Linked DNA regions of Homo sapiens: region 1 is linked to region 2. The links are contacts of gene promoters, found by promoter capture Hi-C in blood cells and fetal thymus (Javierre and others, 2016). All regions are on one chromosome and are shown on one strand. The core of a region is centred on a gene start or on the middle of the fragment in contact, and the rest is flanking DNA. Distances in the headings are between cores, read along the strand shown. Region 1 holds the start of H3C8 (H3 clustered histone 8). Region 2 holds the start of H4C2 (H4 clustered histone 2).

Region 1 (7,517 bases), core at 3,491-5,990, 240 kb after region 2:
GGAGGCGGAGGTTGCAGAGAGCCGAGATCGTGCCATTGCACTCCAGCCTGGGCAACAAGAACGAAACTCCGTCTCAAAAAAAAAAAGTATAAATCAGTACTGAGTTACCTGGAAATTCCAGCTTAAGAAAAACAAAGGCCCTGGTTTTATGTAGTTGGCTATCAGAACAATGTCCATAGCCCAAATATGCACCCAACTCAGGATCCATGAATCAATGTTTCTTCTCTCTGGTATGATCTTCCTACAGCTGTATAAAGAACTCACTCTCTTCTCTGCTCAGTCTTGTCAGGACCAAGAAAAATCTTCGCCTTCACCCTCTGAAGTTTTTCTCAAAAATCAATTACCAAAAAACAGATTAATAGGAGAGAAAGGCACACAAGTTTATTAACATGCAGGAGGGAGAACCACAGAGTAATTACCCCAACCCCAGCAGGGGGTACAGAAGCTTAAATGCCATCTTTAGGTTAAAGAATGGGGACTCAGAGCATGGCCAAAAACAGGTTAGGGTGGTCAATCATGCAAGACAGGTTATGGGAGGGCTTTGCTAACAAAGGTGGTCTTGTTATGTAGATGAAAACTCATAGGTAACAGCCCTCAAGAAGAATACATATATAGTAAATGTTTCTTTCAGACCTTTAAAGGTGTCAGACTCAGATTTTTTTTTTTTTTTTGAGAGGGAGTCTCGCGCTGTTGCACAGGCTGGAGTGCAATGGCACAATCTCGGCTCACTGCAACCTCCGCCTCCTGGGTTCAAGCAATTCTCCTGCCTCAGCCGCCTGACTAGCGGGGATTACAGACGCCCACCACCATGCCCAGCTAATTTTTGTGTGTTTAGTAGAGACGGGGTTTCGCTACATTGGCCCAGGCTGGTCTCTAACTCCTGACCTCAAATCTGCCTGCCTCGGCCTCCCAAAATGCTGGGATTACAGGCGTGAGCCACTGCGCCCAGCCTGGTGTCAGACACTTAATCTTTCCTAGATTGGACAAGGTAAAGCCTCAGAAAAAAACCCTGGCAGCACCAAAGCAGGTTTTCTCTACAGATGCACATCTCCACAAAAGGCAGCTCTGCAGGGCAACTTCTGTTTGCAGACCCTCCAAAGAGCCATCTCAAAATATGTCAAAGAAGTATACTTGGGGATGAAATAGTTGATTTCCTTCAGCCTTGTTGGCCTAAAAGAAAGATGCAGAGGCACAAATCATAACTTAAAGAATTTATGGCCGGGCGCGGTGGCTAACGCCTGTAATCCCAGCACTTTGGGAGGCCAAGGAGGGTGGATCACGAGGTCAGGAGATGGAGACCATTCTGGCCAACATGGTGAAACCCCGTCTCTACTAAAAATACAAAAATTAGCCAGGTATGGGGGCATGCGCCTGTAGTCCCAGCTACTCAGGAGGCTAAGGCAGGAGAATCACTTGAACCCAGGAGGCAGAGGTGGCAGTGAGCCGAGATCGCACCACTGCACACCAGCCTGGGTGACAGAGCAAGACTCCGTCTCAAAAAAAAAAAAGAATTGGCGCCAGGAACGGTGGCTCATGCCTGTAATCCCAGCACTTTGGGAGGCCGAGGCGGGAGGATCACAAGGTCAGGAGATGGAGACTCATCCTGGCTAACATGGTGAAACCCTGTCTCTACTAAAAATACCAAAAAATTAGCCGGGCATGGTGGCGGGCACTGTAGTCCCAGCTACTGTGGAGGCTGAGGCAGGAGAATGGCGTTAACCCAGTGAGCCAAGATCACACCAGCCTGGGTGACAGAGCAAGACTCTGTCTCAAAAAAAAAAAAAAAAAAAAGAATTTACTTGAGCCAAAGTCAGCACAGCAGCTCAGAAATCTCAGGCCCAAGTAATCTTGGATATGAGCTCCACTGGCCTTTGTTAAAAATAGGTTTTTAAAGGCAAAAAAGGGGGGACAGAAGGTGGGCTGATACAAAATTTTTTGTCAGGAATTTTCCTTGGTTTACAGAAATAGCATTAATTAGTTATTGGCTATACATTGTAAAGCTACAGGGTGTGGGTTACAGTGTGGGATGTGGCATTATTAGATAAACTTATAGCTACTTATAACAATAACAAGCAGTATCTAGAGATGAATACATAGCTCAAAGAGGGGAGTAGGTTGTGATTGCTGTCTCATTTTAATGTTACTGTGGGCCTGATAATTTAAAATGACTCCCATTCCTCAGATGAAAGTTATTTTCTTGGCCTGGTGTGGTAGCTCAGGTCTGGTAGCCCCAGCACTTTTGGAGGCCAAAGTGAGAGGATCCCTTGAGCACAAGAGTTTGAGACTTGCCTGAGCAACATAGTGAAGCCTCGTCTGTACAAAAAAAAAAAAAAGTTATTTTCTTTTCCCAGTCTTATCTCAGTTGTGAGTTCTTCCCCATCCACCATTTTTAAAATTACAGCTGTCTACCACATTCCCTCCTGTCCTCTGGCAGTCATTCCCTTTATCCATTTTAACTTTTCTACGTCTTTTTTATATAAGAATATACTAAACTCTTTTTTTTTTTTTTTTTTGAGACAGAGTCTCACTCTGTCGCCCAGACTGGAGGGCAGTGGTATGATCTCGGCTCACTGCAACCTCCACCTCCCAGGTACAAACGATTCTCATGCCTCAGCCTTCAGAGCAGCTGGGACTACAGGTACGTGCAACCATGCATGGCTAATTTTTTGGTATTTTTTAAGTAGAGATGGAGTTTCGCCATGTTGGCCAAACTGGTCTCGAACTCCTGACCTCAAGTGATCTGCCCACCTGGGCCTCACAGGCCATAGACTTTGTGTAACTTGTGTTTCTTTCTCCTAGATGCATCTTCAACCTTGGCAAAAATAAACCTGTGAATCAGTGGAGATCTGCTCGGTCACTTTTTGGTTTACACTATTGGGGAGAACAAAAGAAGTACAGAAAAGAGCTTTCACTCTTATGGGCCTGGTGATGCACCAGAAGATTCTATAAAGCAAGCTTTACTAACTACCCTTTATCTATGTTTGCTTTCCCCAACATTGCCGCCCCTGGACACTCAAAGTACTTCTCCTTCGTCTTCTAAATTATCTAAAAATTCACTGTTCTTTGTTGAAGACACTACACAAAAGCTGGAATTCAAAGCCACCTCAATGTGTACTCATTCCCTAGGTGTCATTCATGTATATGTAATATATATGTTAATACACTTCTGCTTGTTTTTCATTTGTGAATCTGTCTTTTGTTACATGGGTTTGTTTCAACTAAGAACCTGTGTGAGGTGGGAATTGAAGGGAAAATTATTCTGCCCTTTCTCCACCTTCATTTCCTACTGTCCCCTGCTCATTCCCCATAGTCACCATGGTGCCTCAGGAGTCTCCCTCCTTTTCTCCCTGAACACATCCGCACAGGTTGCTTCCTCACCTTTCAGCTCTTTGCTGAAATATTATCTTCTTAGTGGGGTCTTCATTGGTTGCCTTATCTAAATTTCAGCTTCCCATGACACTCCTTAGTCTTGCTCTATTTTTTTTTCCTTCTCACCATCTAACATATTACATAAACATATCTAGTTTATTTTCTGTCTATTCCAGACTCAAATGTAAATTCCATGAAAGCAAAAATTTTGTGTTTTGTTCTCTGGGTGTATTTCCAATGCACAGACCAGCATCTGGTACATTGTAAATTCTCAACCAGTGTTGTTTGCAGTAAATAAAAATCAATGTTGAAGAAATATGTCAACCAAAATGGATCATATTAAATTTTTAAAAAAGAAATACTATTTGTTATAAAAGTAATGATGGCATCATAATTTATTTTTGTTTTTATTTTTGAGATGGAGTCTCGCTCTGTCACCAGGCTGGAGTGTAGTGGCATGATCTTGGCTCACTACAACCTCCGCCTCCCAGGTTCAAGAGATTTTCCTACCTCAGCCTCCCCAGTAGCTGGGATTACAGGCGTGCACCACCAGGCCCGGTCCAGCTAATTTTTATATTTTTAGTAGAGATGGGGTTTCACCAAGTTGGCCAGGTTTGTCAAGAATTAACCTCATGTGATCCTCCCACATCGGCCTCCCAAAGTGCTGGGATTACAGGAGTGAGCCAAGGCACCTGGTCCATAATAAGGTGTTAAATAGCAGATAACATATATAAAATAGATGAAATGATATTGAAATTGTCATTGCAACATTGTAACTGAGACAAAGAGATCTGACCTAACCAACTCCATCTTGCTTCTAACCTTCAAGCTGTCCTTGTTCACTCCTGGGTGTAGGCTGAACTACCTTTGGGAGGAACTTAGTTTATAGTTTAAAACTAATATGATAACAGCCCTTTCCCAAAACAAACCTCCTTGCCTGGGGACTAGACTGCCTTTGTAGGACTAACAAATTACTCACAAGATTAGAAATTATGGTTTAGGGGTAGGTCGTAATGGCTCACGCCTGTAATCCCAACATTTTGGGAGGCGAAAGCGGGTGGATCACTTGAGGTCCAGAGTTCGAGACCAGCCTGGCCAATATGAGGAAACCTCGTCTCTACTAAAACTACAAAAATTGGCTGGGCATGGTGGCGCGCGCCTGTAATCCCAGCTGCTTGGGAGGCTGAACAGGAGAATCGCTCGAACCTGGGAGGCAGAGTTTACAGTCTCCATCCTGGGCAACGCAGTGAGACTGTCTCAAAGAAAAAAAAAAACACACACATTATGGTTTAGGAGTCCTGCAGCTGGAACCTACAAGATTCTGACCCCACGTAAACTGCTCCTAAGATCAGTGCTTGAGATATTTTGCAGACCTGATGGATCAGTTGGCCCCACCCAGATTGGTAAACTGACTCATCCGATCTTGTGGCCTCCACCCAGAAACTGACTCAGCCCAAGGAGACACCTTCAGCTCCCTATAATGACATCTCTGACCTGACCAATCAGGACTCCTGGTTCATCGGCTTCCCCCCCATCTGGAATGCTGGGGAGACTGATTTGAGTAACAATAAAACTACGGTCTCCCGCACAGCTGGCTCGGCGTGAATTACTTTCTCTATTGCAATTCCCTGCCTAGATAAATCAGCTTTGTCTAGGCAGTGGGCAAGGTGAACCCATTAGGCAGTTTCATTATTTGCTTTACAAAAATCAATAGATAAAACACTTAGCCAATGTTGTTATTGAAGCTGGATGAGAGGAACATAGGTTTTATTAAACTATTATCTCCTTTCCCATATATTCTGGAATGTCAAATAAGTTTTTAAAATAAAAGCAATATGTGAAAAAAAATGACAAGTTGCTAAATTAATAAAGATCATAAAGAAGGATCTGCTGAATACCCAAACAGGGCCTTGTGCTAATCTGTAAAGGAAGGGTTCTATATGAAAACATATCTTGGTTGTATGCCAAGCAGCCCAGGATGGTATGTGTTCCTCCTTGTAACATCCCTAAAAACCTGATACTTCCAATCACTAAAAGGACCTCGGTGGTTCAAAAAAACAAAAAACAAAACAAAACAAAAAAGAAAAAACTTACATTAGTGTTGCCCTAAGAAATTCTTATAAAAGCCAGGTGTTGAAAGATAGTCAAGCAAGCCAGAAAGTCTTTAGAGACCAGTATATTCTCTCTGAAGGCAAACTACAAGGAAACTGATTCAATTAGAAAACTGCTAAGCCTAGAGTCAAACCAGAGCTAATAAGAGTATTAAAATTTATGTAGCAAGGAGTCTCAGCCCCAGCTGTTAGAAGCACCTGAATTTTAATAATTACCATTCCCTGGGCCCACTCTAGATTGCTATTAGTCTCATTGAACCCCAGGTAAAGATTTTTCTAAAGCCTTCCCATGTGACTGTAATGTTACATTGAGAAAACTGATCTGTAAAGAAATCAAACTATTTTAGGGGATTGTTCTGTGCACTTGCTTTAGAGAACATTTCATAGAATATTTCATTCTGTAACATAAATAAACATGCATTTTGCAAAAGCTCACTCCTTGTAAGAGTTCACAGGCAGGATGCCTTTACTGATGAGACCAAAACCAACAACCTAGGCTTCCTAAATCAGTGTTCATGAGAATCATCTGAGGTATATGCAGATTGACTCCAGCCCTAGATGGGGATTGAAACAAGCTCCCATGTAATGCCCTGGGAGCTTCTAACAAGTTCCCACGTAATGCCCATGCTGCCAGTAATGTAGAGGCCAATCTGGCTTTCGTTTCTGCCGCCAATTTCTAATATTGAATTAAAAAATGGATCATTTCACAGAAAAACCAAGAACTGTTTAAAAAAAGGGGGAATTGTGGAAATAGCTGCTTCAGACACGAAAAAGCAGCAACCAAGGATATCCCTACCTACTCTCAACTGCCAATGCTCATACCTGTAAAGTTTTAAAAGGGATTAACCAGAAATACACAACGAAAAAAAATCCCATCTATAATGGGTGTAAGTAGACAACGCGACTAACGCTTGAGACAATGTATATAAACGCCCCCAGGTGGCCCCTTCCACTACCAAATCGAAGCTCCAAACCCCTAAAAGCCAGTTTAGAAAAGGACGCTGACAATCTGGCACTTTCGGGAAAAAGCACGGGAACAAATATAGCAAGCTTACCATTAACTTTAGCCAATCAAATGAGGACTTAAGTACTAAAACCAATGTTTAGTTTCAAAGATTTGATTAGTTAATCACAGCTATTTTCGGGTGAAAGTAGGCGGCTCTTAAAAGAGCCTTTTTAAGTTGGATAGAATTACTGCCCGGAAACCTCTACGCTCTCTCCCCACGAATGCGGCGAGCGAGCTGAATGTCCTTGGGCATGATAGTCACTCGCTTAGCATGGATGGCACACAGGTTGGTATCCTCAAAGAGCCCCACCAAGTAGGCCTCGCAGGCCTCCTGCAGGGCCATCACCGCGGAACTCTGAAAGCGCAGATCTGTCTTGAAGTCCTGAGCGATTTCTCGCACCAGGCGTTGGAAAGGCAACTTGCGGATCAGCAGCTCAGTCGACTTCTGATAGCGGCGAATCTCGCGCAGAGCCACGGTGCCGGGACGGTAGCGATGAGGTTTCTTCACGCCGCCGGTGGCCGGCGCGCTTTTCCGAGCCGCCTTAGTGGCCAGCTGCTTGCGCGGCGCTTTGCCACCGGTGGACTTGCGTGCAGTCTGCTTGGTGCGGGCCATCTCAGACTACCTGAAAGAAAAACTCAGCCACTTGGCAGAGTGGAAACTGCCCTTATATATACTCAGAAACATTCTAATTGGCCTTGTTGATTTTCAAAAGACCCGCGCAACAAAACCATTGGCTGAAGAGTCCAACGATGTGATTGGTGAATTACTGGAAAATCTGATTGGATGAATCACTTCATTTTTGAATCCTCTCTTCTCGGTTAGTCTGCGATCCAAGAACGTTAACTTCTTAAAGTTCTAATTCTGCGCTTCTCAAGCTGTAGTCCGTAAACGACTACTTTAAGACTTGGAAGACGCTAATTCTCATTCAGTAGATGTGTTGTGGGGCCAGATTCGGAGGACCACGTTTTGAGAAGTTTATCTTGTGCCGTTTTCTTGAGTCACCTGGACTGCTGCTAGCTGGAAACCTTTG
Region 2 (7,794 bases), core at 1,872-4,371:
GCAGAAAAGCTTATTTTACAAGGGATGATTATGGGAGGTCTCTTTCGTAAGGTTGGTATTTGAGGAGAGGCTTGAATGAAATGAGATCTAGAGCCATTCAGATATCCAGGACAAGACCCTTCTAGGGAGAAAGAATAGATATAAAGGTGCTGATGCTGGAAATGCTTGGTCCATTCCAGAAACAGCAAGGTCAGTGAAGAGAAAGAACTGCGAAGAGAATGAGGTCAGAGGGTAGCCAGAGTACAGATCTAGTAGGTTGAGCAGCTCATCCTAGTTTGCTTGGAACTTTCTAAGTTTCAGCACTGTAAGTCTTACACCCTGAGAAACCCCTGAGAGTCAGGCAAACTGTAATGGTTGGTCATCTTACTTGTAGGCTATGATAAGGATGCTGGTTTTTATTATGAAGGTGATGGAAAGCCAGTGGAATCTTTTCAGCAGACAGTGGACATAATACCTTCAAAAAGGATCACTGTTGATGCTGGATAGAGAAAAAACTGTATGACAGGGGGATTAAAAGTGAAAACAAAGACCAGTTTGGGGTCACTGTGGTCATTCAGACAAACCGCCATGGCAGCTTGCTCCTAGAGAAGCAGCAAAGAAAACAATGAAAGGTATTCTGATTGATTTTCAACAGAGCTGACTGCATTGGGTGAAAGTTGTAAGAAGCTCAGGACAAACAATATTGCACAATTCCTGGCCCAAGCTGCTTGAAGAATGGAGTTCTATTGATTGACATGACAAATATCAGAGGAAGAACAGACTTGGTGTTTACGTATAAACATATTTTGGACAAGTTCGAGATGCCCATTATTCAATTAGATACATCAAATATGCAGTTGTATATGAGTCTAGAGATTTAAGGTCAGGGAGATGGTTTATAATTGCAAACACTTATTTAGAGACACAGTTTCACTCTTGTCTCCCAGGCCTAAGTGTAATAGCGCGATCTCAACTCACTGCAACTTCTGCCTCCCGAGTTCAAGCTATTCTCCTGTCTCACCCTCCCGAGTAGCTTGGATTACAGTCGCCCGCAACCATGCCCAGCTAATTTTTTTTTTTTTTTTAGTAGAGACGGGGTTTCACAATATTGGCCAGGCTGGTCTCGAACCCCTGACCCCAGGTGATCCACCAGGCTCAGCTTTCCAAAGTGCCGGGATTACAGGCGTGAGCCACCTTGCCGGGCCTATATTTCTTAAGCTCTATGTTTCGTTCTGAAGCTTGAAGTGGGTGGAAGCAAACTGATAGAATTTGGAGAGGTGGTTAGGCATCCCGGGAATGAGAAACAGCCCGAAGCTGCCACTATCACAGGCTTTGGCATTGCTAGAAGTTAACGTGGCACTTACAGCTAGGCCGTGGTGTTCTGTTGAACAAACTATTTGACAGAGCACAGAGCATGTAAGTGGTGAGGCCAGTTGAGTTAGCCAAGAAAAGAGGAGTCCAAGAACTGAGCCAGAGTACACCAGAGTATGTAGTGGAGTACAGCTTTCTCATTCTTTAGTAGGGCTGTGTAGAGAAATACTCTATTTTATGGATGTATAGATCACTCTAGTCCTTTCTGATGAAAACTTTACAGTTGCCACTCATTTACTATTACAAACAATGCTGCACTACATTATGTTTCAGTTTTTAGCCATCTCATCTGGTCTCAGCATTTATTTATCTGCTGATGACTCACACATTTTTATCTCCAGCTCAGACCTCTCACCCGAACTCACTTATTCAACTGCCTATTCACTATATCCTCCTGTCAGGAGAAGCTTGTTAGCAAAGTAACCAGAAAACAAAGTTGATTTTTTTTGCTGAAGTAGCCATCAATATATTTGTTACTAAATCAAAGATGCTGAATATTTGGCTGACTTCTAAAAATCTGGTCACCTAACTTTGACACTTCCTAGGTCGTACAGTTTGAAACTTTCACAATTAAATCAGTTTTGGAATTTACAATTTAAGGCAGGAATAGAAGACTATTGGGTTGACAGGTACAGTGAAGATGCAAGTCATCTGAGAATCTTACATCAGAGGGGGCTTCCATCTTATAGCTGCTGCCACGGACCTCGGAGTCAGAAGAAATTTGAGTCCTTATTTATAAAACAGACTCCCTTAGTCTACTAAGTGGGAATTTACGAACTGCGTAGGCAGCCTGCTTAGGGGAGCCTCCAGCCTGAGGACTGAAAATAGCAAAGCAGCTTTAACCGCCAGTCCTACTCCAGAGAAGGGGGAGGTGACGTCACTCAGCAGGACGCCAAGCTCAACTAGAAATGGAAGTAAAGGCTTCTGGCGCTACCGGCAGGGGGCGGTTAAGGACGGCAGGTGTTACCAGGGAAGCTAAAAGTACAGCTTTTGCTGACGTTAAGTCAGATACGCCTGGGAAAACAGACCTGACACCCATTTTAATCCACCTACTCAGTTCCAGGCAGCTAGCATCTTAGGCTCTCGTACAAATAACGCACAACTCGTTTTTAAAACTAAAAAGCTGAGCTACTCATTTATCGGACTCGCGCTGCACGTTAAGTTGCTTGACATGTCAAAACTATAGCATTGAAGTTTATAGCTCACTTATCTCGGAGACCTCGTTTACTTAGCTGATTTCTGCTTTAGCAGCCACTCAGACCAAACAACCTGGTCTCTCCCAACTGGTTTATAATAGTTCTACATACTAGGCAGAATAGCCGAGTAAAGCCATTGAGATGTTACCATCCGAAAGAATACAATCACAGCTCTTTCTGAGAGGGAGTGGGCGGCCCTGAAAAGGGCCATTGGAAGAAAACTGACGAAAAGATTAACCGCCGAAGCCGTACAGAGTGCGTCCTTGACGCTTGAGCGCGTAAACCACATCCATGGCAGTGACAGTCTTGCGCTTGGCGTGCTCCGTGTAGGTCACGGCGTCCCGGATCACGTTCTCCAGAAACACCTTGAGAACGCCACGAGTCTCCTCATAAATCAAACCGGAAATTCGCTTAACCCCACCACGCCTAGCAAGGCGCCGAATGGCCGGTTTGGTGATGCCTTGGATGTTATCCCGCAGCACTTTTCGGTGACGCTTGGCACCTCCCTTACCCAAACCTTTACCGCCTTTGCCGCGACCAGACATGTCTAACCAGCTGACAACAAAAACCAGGTACGCGAAAAGAAAGCAAGCCACGAGCATTTATACACGAACATCGGACCTTATTGAGAACTGAAAGCGGGAGCGAGGATAAGGAGGCGTTGCTGCCTCACTTTTTGCTCCGCCCCTCGAGGGGCAGTGACCTAAGGACTGCGAGGGAGAACACAATAGTTTCACTTTTTAATCCCTTTAGTTTTTCCCTCCCGTTTACGACACTACTATTTGAATCTGAATTTATACCCTCGACTGAGAATTTTAATAAGGGCTTATATTAAGGGCTTTCACTAATATGCCGGAGTGGTAAACTTTTTAAGTCTTTCAAGTGCTTGAAGACATATTGACTATTCAAAGGTACTTAAAAGAGCAGGCGTGAAAAGATCACTCTGGCCTTATGTTTTCTTGAAAGCTGACCTGTTTCTTAGAAGCAGTAGGTGAAATTCTCATATGAAAGATGTTCTCACTGTAGTTTAAAAAAAGCAACATTCTTCTCAAGGATAGGAGGCTGAGGCCAAGAGAATTCTGTACAAACCTTGCACTAGCCCTTGCTGGGCGCTTCTCTACACAGTTATATATTCTAGCCTAAATCCCTTTGCTTTAGCGCATTTTTACATTTTACTAATTGTCCAATTCATTATATAAGTAGCTAACTGCTTTTTTTGGGCTTTCATTACCTTATGAGAGCACCTGTGTCACGTAAAACCTGTGTTAAATAAATGCATATACCTTTCTCCTGTTAATCCATTTTACATTAATTTAATTTGCTGGTCCAGCCAGAGCCCTAAGAGGATGGGAGTGGAGTTTTGCTATCCTTCACACTGTACTGTCTCATTCAGAAGAGGGTGATAGCTCATTGCAACCGTGCCTTCATCTGTAAATCGGGTTATGATGATACTCAGGGGACTTTTAATTAGCTAATGTGAACGAGGCATGAGAAGAGACTGTGGAAAAGAAATAAATATTACATAATATGGTTTAATTTTAGATGTTACTACTTAAAAAAATCTGCTCAGAGTTGGGATATTGTCCTGAACTCTCATTTTCGTGTTTTTACTCCCAACACTATATTGCTAGCAGCAACTATGTATGTATTAGTAAGGATTGTTTTTTTAAAATCACAGCCTGTAATAACGTACAAGGTGTTGACAGATTCCGTTTAGCTTTTCATATGTGACATGTTAAAATTGTCCGAAAATATTCCTTTGTTCTCTTTTCCAAGGTGCAATACAATAGCAGCATTCGTGCTTTCCTATAGCCAAGTCTGGAGTGTAGTTCAACTCTCCATACACGCTTCTCACTGTTGTTTTAAATTTCCTGAAAACATTCTTAAATCACTTCTATTGGAAAAACTGCAAGGGCTACTGCTAAATTTTTAAGTCTGAAAAATGCACCCCAAACTTGACTTCTTTCTCTGAGAATCTTAGCCATCTCACCCAAATCTAACAAACCAAAACTGATTTTAGACTTCAACAGCATTAGCTGTAAACTTCAGCCTGCAGCATAACATCACTTTGTTGTGACTGGGCAGGAAAAACCCTGTTAAACTGTTTCAGGCGCGTCCGTGTGAAGAGACCATCAAACAGGGTTTGTGTGAGCAACAAGGCTGTTTATTCTACCTGGGTGCAGGCGGGCTGAGTCCGAAAAGAGTCAGCGAAGGGAGATGGGGTGGGTCCGTTTTATAAGATTTGGGTAGATAGTGGAAAATTACAGTCAAAGGGGGTTGTTCTCTGGCTGGCAGGGGTGGGGGTCACAAGGTGCTCAGTGGGGGAGCTTTTGAGTCAGGATGAGCCAGGAGAAGGAATTTCACAAGGTAATGTCATCAGTTAAGGCAGGAACAGGGCATTTTCACTTCTTTTGTGTTTCTTCAGTTACTTCAGGCCATCTAGAGGCATACGTGCAGTTCACAGGGGATATGATGGCTTAGCTTCGGCTCAGAGGCCTGACAAACTGAACAACTGGGAACAAACAACATTTAATGCACACAATCTCTATCTTGTAGGGAGGCAAAATTTTACCTCTACTCTGTTAGGGTCTCCAGCTGGACCTGATAATTCATTTGCCATAAAACAGATTAGCAGAATGAAAGCATACAAATGTATTTAATGTAAATTTTATGGGACAGGAGAACCCTCATAAAAAAGTGAAGCCCCAAAGAAATGGCAAAAGCTAAATGCTTTCACATTAAGTTAAAGAGAGGCAATTGTGGGAAAGTAAACCATATGAGGAGATTAAAGGAATATATGATTATTTTAACAAGGTTTGTTTGTGTATAGAAGTCTCTCGGCTATGACTCCCTGCTGTGTTTGTGCAGAATTATCTCATCTATGCCTCTGGGCTGAAGAATATGTCTTTTCACCTGGTACAAGCAGAGCATTTTTCACATTGGAACTTTTATCTCCTGTTTTCAGAAAGAAAAGTTTAGAAGAATTCCCTTCTTGAATGCTGTTTTTGAAGTGCCTTTAGCTCAAAAGAATCCTGATCCCACAGTGGTCTATTTTTGGATGGTATATTCTGCAAACAACACCCCCTTTTTGTCTCCAATCTCTCCTTAATTACTCCTCTAATACAAAACAATAGATTCTTAATATAATATTAAAATGTTTGCACTACTCACAAATACAAAATGCTCAATAAATTTTCTTTCACAAATGAGAATTTCATCCATTCGTTAATTTTTAAATATCAACTGTCAATGAAGAGTTACAGCAGAATCCTTGTTCTGTTGAGGAGGGGGCAAAGAATGTAAGTGAGGGAGTGGAAAATAGCTGGACTGAGCTACCACCCCCTGTCCATCTGATCCTCAGACAGTAATGTAACTTTATTCTTTTATGCTATTCGTCAGACCCAGTACCTCCAACACATTTGTTTCCTACAGATAAAGAAAATATAAAAAGTCAAGCGCTATACATCAGATCCAGCACATCTATAACTGGAAAAAAAATACTTGACCTTCAGCTGGGCCCAGAGCTTGTGAGTAGTCACCTTGGCATAGACCAAGTCCATTGGCATCTCTAACATATCTATACTGTCTGTGGATAACAAATGTCTATGCCAGTTAGAGTCGCTTGTATAAGAGTCAAGAAAAACGAATCATAAAACAAACTGACATATTCATTTTCATAATTTTTAAAATGCAAATATTACTTTATAAACCAAAAACTGCCTTATTAAAAGCTGGAACACAAATGAATTTAAGTAAACGATGCAATTCAAATTTAATCTTTTGTGTGTGTGATTTGTTGTTGTTGACAGTTGGTCAGGCGATTTTAGTATGGTACATCAGTTTACATTCTAGATGTAGGCCAAGAAAGAATGTTAGGTGTAAAAAATATTTATTGTAAAAAAGAATGTGAGGCAAGGTCTTTGGAATTAGTAGTTTTAATGTTGGACATTCTGTGGTTGTTCTAAAGTTAGTCTGTAAAATGTGATGTAAAAGCTATATGATAAAAAAATACAAAATATAAAAATTTTAAAGTAAATATTACTTTTGTTTGCGTACAGTATTCCCATCCCTCTAAATTTTCTTCCAGTACTCAATCCCCAACCTCCAAAACCGAAAAGCAAGATCAACAGAAAGAAAATGGTTAAAACTTGTAAATTCTAGATTTTAATAACTACAGGCAAGAAGTACTGAAAAAAAGAATGTGGCATGTCATGGTGCATAGTCCTAGAGGAGACAAAGCAATGCAACCAGATAGACTATTTACAAGCAAAGCCACACATATAAAAATTCATATATAAGGGATTAAATTATGCTTGGTCGACAGACTGACAGATTTAAAGTGGGTAGCTAGCTATGGATAAAATGAGAGCCAGTTAGATCCCTGCCTCACATTTTGCACCAGAATAAATTTCAGGTTAATGTTAACAGCCAAATGAATTTAACAGTATATATATATATATATATATATATAATATATGAGAAAACCTAGGGGACTATGTATTGAGCTGAGAAAATCTTCCTAAGCATTTTGAGGAAGACACTGGAACTCGCAAGACACAATTTTCTAATCTTTTCAAAGCTTTGCAAAAATGCCTAGTAAGCGCCAGTTAACTACTTACCAGATTTTTCCCTTACTCTTACAAAGTTGTTTAAACAAATGCTAATCATAGCAAGCTAGAGGCCTGAATGATAGTGGACTTACACAGCTTCTCTCCAAATAGCACCTTAATAAGGTCAGAAATAACCTACACTGCAAGACTGACCAAACCGTTATTTCTGTTAATCAACTTTAAGACCATAGTCTAATGCTTTCCGGGGGGGTCCTTAGAAATTTGTTCTGTTAAGACAACAAAAAATTATCACAGCTACTTTCGTTGGAATAAGTGGGTGGCTCTGAAAAGAGCCTTTGGGTTTTAAGACTGATGAAAAAGTGACTTTACATTTACGCTCTTTCTCCGCGAATGCGGCGAGCGAGCTGGATGTCTTTGGGCATAATAGTCACTCGCTTAGCATGGATGGCGCAAAGGTTTGTGTCCTCAAAGAGCCCTACCAAGTAGGCCTCACAAGCCTCCTGCAGCGCCATCACCGCAGAGCTCTGGAAGCGAAGATCGGTCTTGAAGTCTTGGGCGATTTCTCGCACCAGGCGCTGGAACGGCAGCTTCCGAATCAGCAACTCGGTCGACTTTTGGTAGCGGCGGATCTCGCGCAGAGCCACAGTGCCCGGGCGGTAACGGTGAGGCTTTTTCAC

The links. The method cuts DNA at HindIII sites, captures the fragments that hold promoters and counts their contacts. A CHiCAGO score of 5 or more calls a contact.
Region 1: a contact is called between a fragment that was not itself captured here and the fragment with the promoter of H4C2 in region 2, in 1 of 17 cell types (neutrophils). The highest score is 9.2, in neutrophils.

What each region holds. Positions count from the first base shown.
Region 1 is chr6:26,264,286-26,271,802 of GRCh38, forward strand. H3C8 (H3 clustered histone 8) reads right to left here and starts at 7,128. Exons shown (of 1, transcript NM_003534.3): 1 at 6,633-7,128. The coding sequence starts at 7,099. The coding sequence ends at 6,689. RefSeq lists enhancers at 4,660-5,256, 6,030-6,169. The HindIII fragment of the contact is 3,575 bases long and covers 2,954-6,528 here.
Region 2 is chr6:26,024,162-26,031,955 of GRCh38, forward strand. It overlaps H4C2 (H4 clustered histone 2), which reads right to left and starts at 3,122. Exons shown (of 1, transcript NM_003544.3): 1 at 2,735-3,122. The coding sequence starts at 3,091. The coding sequence ends at 2,780. H3C2 (H3 clustered histone 2) reads right to left here. Exons shown (of 1, transcript NM_003537.4): 1 at 7,428-7,794. The coding sequence ends at 7,489. RefSeq lists enhancers at 2,735-2,784, 2,815-2,874, 2,895-3,214, 3,191-3,776, 3,777-4,361 and 3 more. The HindIII fragment of the contact is 5,368 bases long and covers 1,756-7,123 here.